2 separate regions of the Homo sapiens genome follow, and region 2 is linked to region 1. The links are contacts of gene promoters, found by promoter capture Hi-C in blood cells and fetal thymus (Javierre and others, 2016). All regions are on one chromosome and are shown on one strand. The core of a region is centred on a gene start or on the middle of the fragment in contact, and the rest is flanking DNA. Distances in the headings are between cores, read along the strand shown.

The links. The method cuts DNA at HindIII sites, captures the fragments that hold promoters and counts their contacts. A CHiCAGO score of 5 or more calls a contact.
Region 2: a fragment that was not itself captured here is called in contact with the fragment with the promoter of C1QL2 in region 1 in 1 of 17 cell types (total CD4 T cells); the score reaches 5.9 in total CD4 T cells.

Annotation. Positions count from the first base shown.
Region 1 is chr2:119,156,905-119,160,965 of GRCh38, forward strand. C1QL2 (complement C1q like 2) reads right to left here and starts at 1,847. Exons shown (of 2, transcript NM_182528.4): 1 at 682-1,847; 2 at 1-77. The coding sequence starts at 1,365. RefSeq lists an enhancer at 215-1,025. The HindIII fragment of the contact is 3,837 bases long and covers 290-4,061 here.
Region 2 is chr2:118,226,678-118,230,593 of GRCh38, forward strand. No RefSeq gene overlaps it. Among named protein-coding and RNA genes, the nearest start is that of THORLNC, 42 kb to the left of the region's middle. The HindIII fragment of the contact is 1,570 bases long and covers 816-2,385 here.

The sequences.
Region 1 (4,061 bases), core at 597-3,096:
TCCAAGTGCAGCACCACGCTGTTACTGGCGTAGTCGTAGTTCTGGTCGGCGTCCTGTGCAATGGCGCTGGCCCGGACCTGGGGACAAGCGGTGGGAGCAGGTGAGCCGGGGCACCTCTTCCCGCGCCTTTGCTCAGCCCACACCAGGCGCGCCACTCACGGGCCTCCCGCCTGCTGCTTCAGGGTCCACACTCCCACCCCAGCTCCATGTTCTCTCTCCAACTTAGTCAACTCCTTCCAGGTCCCCCCTCCTCCTCGCGCCGACGAGTCTGGGAAATAGGGAGAGGGGAAGCTTCATGAACACTGACCCAGAGTGGAAGGGTGGGAGCCAGGGGCCAGGGCCAAGAGGAAAGGAGGCTGCAGGGCAAGGGGGCGACCTGGAGAGAACTAAAGAACTGAGGTTTCCGAGAAGCCCACGGAGAGGCAGGCAGGGACGCAAGTGGCCAAGGAGTGTAGTTTAGGTATGGGGGTCTCTGGGCTCTCAAGGCCCAACATTTGGCTCTACGTCCCGGTGAGCGCGGCCTCGGCGCATCGGGAAGCGGAGATACTGTGGCACCGAGGCGCGTTCATTCCCGGGGCTCGCAGGGTAGCCCGCGGGTGGAGAGAAAGGAGGCTGGTTCCCTGGGAGGTTCAGGGCGCGGGCGAGGGTTTACGGGGGCCGGTGAGTGTAGGGGTCACTGACCTGCCCGTTCTTGCAGAGGTCCGCCCACATGCTGGTGCCGTCGCCGCCGCGCATGAGGATGTGGTAGGTGAAGAAGTAGATGCCGCGTACCTGGCAGCTGAACTTGCCCGTGGTGGGGTCATAGTGATTGCCGAGGTTGGTGACCACGTCATCGAACTTCAGCACCTCATAGCCTTCGTGGGGGCTCTTGAGACCCACATAGAAGGCGATCTTGGGGCCGCTGAAGGTGGCGCTCAGCGCACTGGTCACTTCACCCTCGGAATCGCCACCTACCCCGGCCCCGCCGCCCACCACCCCGACGCCGCTGGCCGTGCCCGCCGTCAGTTGCAGCCCTGGCAGCCCGGGCCGCCCCGAGTCGCCCTTCTCTCCCGGAGGGCCCCTGGGTCCAGGCGGGCCCGGCTCTCCAGGGGGCCCCCGCGGCCCTGGCTTGCCCGGTCGCCCCGGGTCGCCCTTGGGTCCCTGGATGAAAGGAGGAGGAGGGTTGGCGCTGAGGTCCTGCATGACTTCCAGGGCGGCGGTGCTGGGTCCGGGTGGCTGCGCCTTTGCACCCGGGGGCTCCCCGCCGGGCGCGGCAGTGTAAGGGTCGCAGATCATGCGGCAGGTGCCCATCATCTCATAGTGCGCGGCGCCTCGGGGCGCCGCCTGCAGCAGCAGCGGCACGGCGATGAGCAGCCCGAGCGCCATGGCCAAGAGTACGCCGACGGCCGCCAGGCAGGCACGCCGCCGCCGCTGCCACAGCCGGGAGGCGACCGCCACCAGCTCCTCCTTGCCGCCCGGGGAGGTAATGGTGGGGCGGCGCGGGCGGCCCCGCTCCCCGCGCTCGGGGACCGGCTCCGCGGGTCCTGGCCGCGCCCCCGACGTGGCGACCCCCAGCCCCGGCTACCCAACTACTTCAGCGAGAGGCGCCGGGACCTCTGAGCCTGGGCCCACCGCGCTGGGGCTGGTCGGGAGAGCCGCGGACGCCCGCGCGCATGACGTGGGGCACACAAGACGAATCCGGCGCCCCGAGGGTCCGGCGCCGGCCAGGGAGTGCTTGCGCTGGCCGGGGAGTCTGCTTGCGGCGTCCGGCGCTGGCTCCGCGGCGCTGCCTCCCGCCAGGCTCCGCTCCGCTGGGTTTAGTGGGGCTCCTAGCGCAGTGAGGGCGCCCCGGCTCCGCGGCGCGCTCTGCTGTGCTCTCTCGCTGTTCGCTGGCTCCCGCGCGGAGGGGGGACCCCGCTACCCTGACGTAAGGAGTCCGGGGCTGAGCGGCGGAGGCGGCGAAGCAGCGCGCGCTGCCATCACTCGGGAGACGGAGCCCTCATGTCATCAGCCTCCTATCTGGCGGCGTCCTCGGCAGAGGCGGTGAAGGCGCGGTTCCCCCTGGCGGCTCCCAGGAGCCACAAGTGGGCGCAGCGGGCGCGGTCCCAAGCCGGGGCACATCGGACACACCCACCCGCGGCCACACTCACGCGCCCCCCACCGATAACACACACAGACACCCACGCACGCAGTGGCGGGGCACGCACAGCCACCCCCACATGGCCACGAAAGCAGCTGGAATCCAGGTGTCAGCAGGGCTCCTCTGGGGTCACCTAATCCATCCCCTGGCCTGCAAAGAGGATCAAACCTCAACCCACCGAGTCCAGGAGAGTCCCGTGAGGTCCAGCGGGAAGGAGTTTCTGAAAGACCTCCTGAGTTATTTCTTCAGAATTGAATAGATCTCGCTTCTGGAAGATCTTTCGCAAACCTAGACTAAGGACTCCAGACTCTTAAACAGGCTCCCGTAGAGCACCCCACTAACCTCTGAGGTGACTCTAAAAAGCCCAAGGCTCCCAATACAAGAATATTTGCGGCCGGGCGCAGTGGCTCACGCCTGTGATCCCAACACTTTGGGAGGCCGAAGCGGGCAGATCACCTGAGGTTGGGAGTTTGAGACCAGCCTGACCAACATGATGAAACCCCGTCTGTACTAAAAACACAAAATTAACTGGGCATGGTGGTGCATGCCCGTAATCCCAGCTACGCGGAAGGCTGAGGCAGGAGAGTCGCTTGAACCAGAGAGGCAGAGGTTGCGGTGAGGCGGGATCGTGCCATTGCACTCCAGCCTGGGCAACAAAAGCAAAAGTCCATCTCAAAAAAAAAAAAAAAAAAAAGGAATATTCGCCTCAGACCTTTTCTTCCACCAGAAAATGGCTGGCCCTTGTCCTCTGCGTGAAGCTGGTGTAGAAACCAAATGCTTGATGCCGGCACTTGGCAGTGATCATGGTGCACTCAGCTTCTACTCCAAGCCCGGCCACTGCCAGGCAGATGCATGGGCACATTCCCTTGGACATCCCCAGCTTCCTCCTCCTGAGATGGGTTTAGTTATTTTAGAAAATAGTCCAAATAGTCCAAAGCCATTCTGAGCCAGTCTTGAATAAACCATGGCCTCAGATGAGAGCAGAATAGTCTATCTCCAATGTAGCATGTGAGGCTAAGGAAGGATGAGAGGCCCGCCGGTGTGGGAGAGACTTCCAGCGGAGAAATCAAAGCCCCAGCTTCTGCTCTTGCCCTGAGTAGCTGTGTGATTTTGCCAGGTGGTTCCTGTCCCTGAGACTCAGTTTCCTTAAAAGGCCGCCTCCTGCCCTAGCACCCCCAACATGGGAATCACACCAGGCCTGTCCTGGGGGGAGAATCTAAGGGCTGGTGTCAGTGTTTGGTGTAGCATCAGCATCTCTGGAACAACAGTGCACCCACCTAAGGCTATTGCTTTGAAGCTAACTCTCATTTGTCCTGCACTAGGTTCTTACGGGTTAATTAAAATCTATTTTTGTCCTCTGATCACCCTGGGTCATTTCCCCACTCCCAACCTCGTTGCTCTAGCCTGTTCTCTCCACATATATTTGTGGAAAGGATGACTGAGCCTAGCCGGAAGCCAACTTTACCAAGGAGAGAAGGAGCACATTTATTGGCACCTACTACGTATGCATCAGGCACTTTGCACGTGCTCCTTCATTCATTCCTCATGTTACTGTGGATTAGTGATCATTTTCCCACCGCACCAATGAGGAAAAAAAAAAGGTTTTGCAAGTGTAGGGTGTTTGCCAAGTGCATTTTACCCACATGACAGAGCCAGGATCCTCCCGGCACCCAGATCAGGGGCTATCTGAACCTGTCAGTGAACACAGCTTCAACAGCTACTTCTTGGCCACAGTCTTCACTGGTTTCCTCAGACTTGGGAGTCTTTCTCCACTCTCTGCCTCAGAGTCATCCCAAGAGCACGTGATTTCAGGAGCCACATGGCCTACTTCCAATCCTGGGTCTGAGACTTCCTGTCTGTGTGACCTTGAGCAAGTTGCTTCATCTCTCTGAGCTCGGATCTCCATGTGTAGAATGGGAATGGAAAAAGAACCTACCTCTAA
Region 2 (3,916 bases), core at 351-2,850, 930 kb before region 1:
AGCATTTGCCTAGGAGTTGAAGATTGGTTGAGATTTCGATGAGTTGAGGTGGGAGAAAGGCATTCAAATGCAGGGAACAGCATGCAATCCGGAGGGAACAACAAATTAGTTTTTGTTTCAGAGGATGGAGGGAGATAGAGCAGGAATGAAAGAGGAGAGAGATAAAGGCAGGCTAAGACTTGCCTGTGGATGAGGGGAGCCCCAGAGTGACAGACCTAGGGGGCATTTGTAAAAGGTGAATCAGGGGCTGTGCCCAGGAAGGATTTGGGGTTGGGCAGAAGGCCTGGATTCTGAGATCCCAGTGGGAGGCTATGGTGGTCATAAGGAATGAGGGCTGCTACAGGCCAGTGTTATGGGGATGGAGAGAAAGAATGATTTGGTAAGATTTGATGGCCAAAGCACATGGAGCTCAAAGCAGAGAGGCAGGTCAGAGGTGACTGGGCTTTCAAACCTGGGTAACCAGAGAATAAAAGACAGCCTCGTTATATGCAAGAAATTAAAATAGCATTTAAGGCTGGGCGCGGTGGCTCATGCCTGTAATCCTAGCACTTTGGAAGGCCAAGGCAGGTGGATCACGAGGTCAGGAGATTGAGATCATCCTGGCTAACACAGCGAAACCTCATCTTTACCAAAAAAAAAATACAAAAAATTAGCCGGGTGTGGTGGCACGTTCCTGCAGTCCCAGCTACTCGGGAGGCTGAGGCAGAAGAATCACTTGAACCCAGGAGACGGAGGTTACAGTGAGCCAAGATTGCACCACTGCACACCAGCCTGGGCAACAGAGCAAGACTCCATCTCAATTTAAAAAAAAAAAAAGCTTTTAAATCTACCATTACATTCATTGCAGCAGTGTTTAAAACATTGAACACTTCATTATAACAGAGAAACTCAGACACCAACATTGACGATCTTTCTTCCAGTGTTGAAGAGCTTTCTTTGTCAAAGCTGGGCACTTGGCCTCATGGTTGAGCTTCAGCCAGACTTAGAAAGCCAGCATCCCAGAGCTCAGTGACTTTGTAGGGTGGACGGAAAACCAGCTTGTAGAAGCTAAATTTTCCCCAAGACACATTACTCCTCCTTAGCATTCGTTACCATTTTTATACCATTATTGAGAAAGAAAATTAGAGAAAGATACCCCAGAGGCATTTTCTCCGCAACTGCCAGGAAGTGAGGAAATGTTCCAACGATGAAACTGATCTGGCATTTGTTTACTTTTCAGTTGCATCCAGTGTCTGCTTAAGAATGTTCTGATGGGCAGATACCTAGATTATCACACAGCAAATGCAAGCCAGAAAGGTGATAAATAGTGAAAAGGGCACCAGACTGGGCATGTGGGTTGGGAGTTCCCTTCCTGGTCCTGCCTGCTAGCTTGTGTGGCCTCATCCATGCAGCGGCACTCTCTGCCCTAGTTCCCTTCCTGAAAAACGAGGTGAATTGGGTGATTTTAAAGGTTCTTTCCAGCTCTGTGTGAGTGGATCAGTGATGTGCCTCTTGCTTTGGGTTTTCCCCAACTCTTTTTTCTCACATTCTGCATTCTGCTTTGCATGTGCAAACAGAAGGGATATTTATGTCAGATGATTTAGACCTTACTCTGGTTTTTAATAACTTTATTGACATTGAACTTTATTAATATTTTTAAAGCATCATTCTGTCTATTCTCCCTTGATCCACAAAACTGCCATGTAAAGTAAGTAAGCCAGGAGTTTTATTCCCAAATGTGCAGCTAATGATAACAATGATGATTTCTATTTACAGAGTGCCTGCCACATGTCAACATATGCCTTATATTGAATGTCTCACTTAATCACCACAATCTTCTAGGTACTGTTACTCCCACTTTACAGATAAGGAAGCTGAGACTTGTAGGGGCTGGGCCTCACCGAATGCCTCCAGCTTCCTGATGGCTGAGTCAGGATTTCAATCCTGGTCTATCAACTCCAACTCTGTGCTCTCTAAGACCTTTGGAGGTTATGTAAGGGTTGTCAACTGTCTTCCTCTACTACCCAATATTTTTTGTGGACATTTACCTCTGTACCATCAGAGAAAACCGTTGGCCAATGTGACCCTCCATTTGCTTTGTGGGCTTCCATGGCCTCCCCATGTGAAATATAAGGCCCAGATTTAAATCAGGCAAGCTGTTGACAAATGTCTATCAAGCACCCAGTATGTGTCTTACAGTCTACCACAGGCTTTGGAACCCTGAAGAAGTATTAGAAATGTCTCCTTCCATCCAGATTTTACAATCTGAGATGAAGAAACTAATTGAGCGAGTACAACATCAGTGAACGAGCAGTGTCCTGTGTTATCATGGAGACCACCAAACTTTATGGAAAGCTCATTCTGCTCCCACTGCAGCCTGGACTGTTTGGCTTAATTCTCATGAAAAGCTTATTTGATGGCTGCTACACAGTGAGAGCTTGTTGACAAAATCTACAACCAACATGCTGGTCCAAAGCAAAGACAGTTGGGGAACTTGTTCTTTGTGCAGTGGCGTCTTTGTCCTGGCCTTTGATTTGTTTCCTGGTATTTTAGCCCTGGAATTAATAGGTAAGCCAAACAGACCCAGTTCTGGCCATTATTGCATACTAATAATGGCTCAAAACAGTGGCTTGAAGCAACACACATTTATTCTGCTTTTGAATCCGAGGGTCAACTGGGCTCCGTGAGGCAGTTCTTGCTTAGGGTTCCTCAGACACTTGTAGTCAGGTGGTTCTGGGGCTGAGGTCATCTGGGAAGCTTCTTCACTCATGTGTCTGGAGCCTGGGCTGGGAAGACTCAGACAGCTGGGACCCCTTGGGCATGTCTCTCTAGGTGGCCTCCTCATGTGGTCTCTCTGTAAAACCATGAGAAGGCCCAGGAAGGCTCTCAGTGGCCTCCTTTGGGTCCTGTGCCCATTCTTGAACTCATCACTGTGGCCAGAGGGAGTTGTGCTTTGATTCTTATCTTGTTCTTACCTTGGGTCAACTCCACCCAAACTACTTAGACTGAATGTGGAAAAATGATGACTCCCAAGGGAAAATTGAAGTGAGGATGGATGATGGAAAATTAAGGCTAGCTGAGGTCCACTGGAGTTACTTGTTTCTTGCTGGTACTCATAGATGTTTGTTGATCATGGTATTGGATGGGGATAGGTCTCATACCCCTTTCCCTGAGATGCTGAGACCAGTGGCTTCTCTGCCTGGACTGGAAGCTACACATAGCTACACATAGCCTAGGGGTTGGAGCAGTGGGCAGCTTGGGGTTTTTATGAACCTACACTTCGGCTGAAGTTGCATTTTCCTACATATGTACCTTTGCTTATGCCATCTTCGCCACTCAGCATGGCCTTTCTACCCATGTCCACCATTTTAAATTAAATTGTCCAATTTGTAAGGCCGGATGTAAGAGCACACTAGCCAAAGATGAACTTTTTGTCCTCCGATCTCTGTGGCCTTGCTGTTCGAAGTGGAGCCCAAGCGCCAGCAGCATCAGCATCCCTTGGAAACTTGTCAGCAGTGTGGTCTTACTATGTACCTCAGAGCTACTGAATTAGAACCTGCATTTTAGCATGATTCCAGGTGTCATGTGGGCACAGCAAAGTCTGGGCAGCGCAATGCCAGAGCAGCAGTTCTCAGAGTGTGGTCCGGGAAAAGCTGAAGGTCTCTGAGACCCCTTCAGGGGGTTGGAAAGGTCAAACAATTTCCATACTAACATACTAATTTCTGCTGTGATAAATATAGCCGGGTGCAGTTATTCACACCTGTAAGCCCAGTACTTTGGGAGGCCGAACAAGTGGATCACTGGAATTTAGAAGTTCAAAACCAGCCTGTGCAAAATGGTGAAACTCTATCTCTACAAAAAAATTCAAAAATTAGCCGGACATGGGAGTGTATACCTGTAGTGCCAGCTACTTGGGAGGCTGAGGTGGGAGAATTGC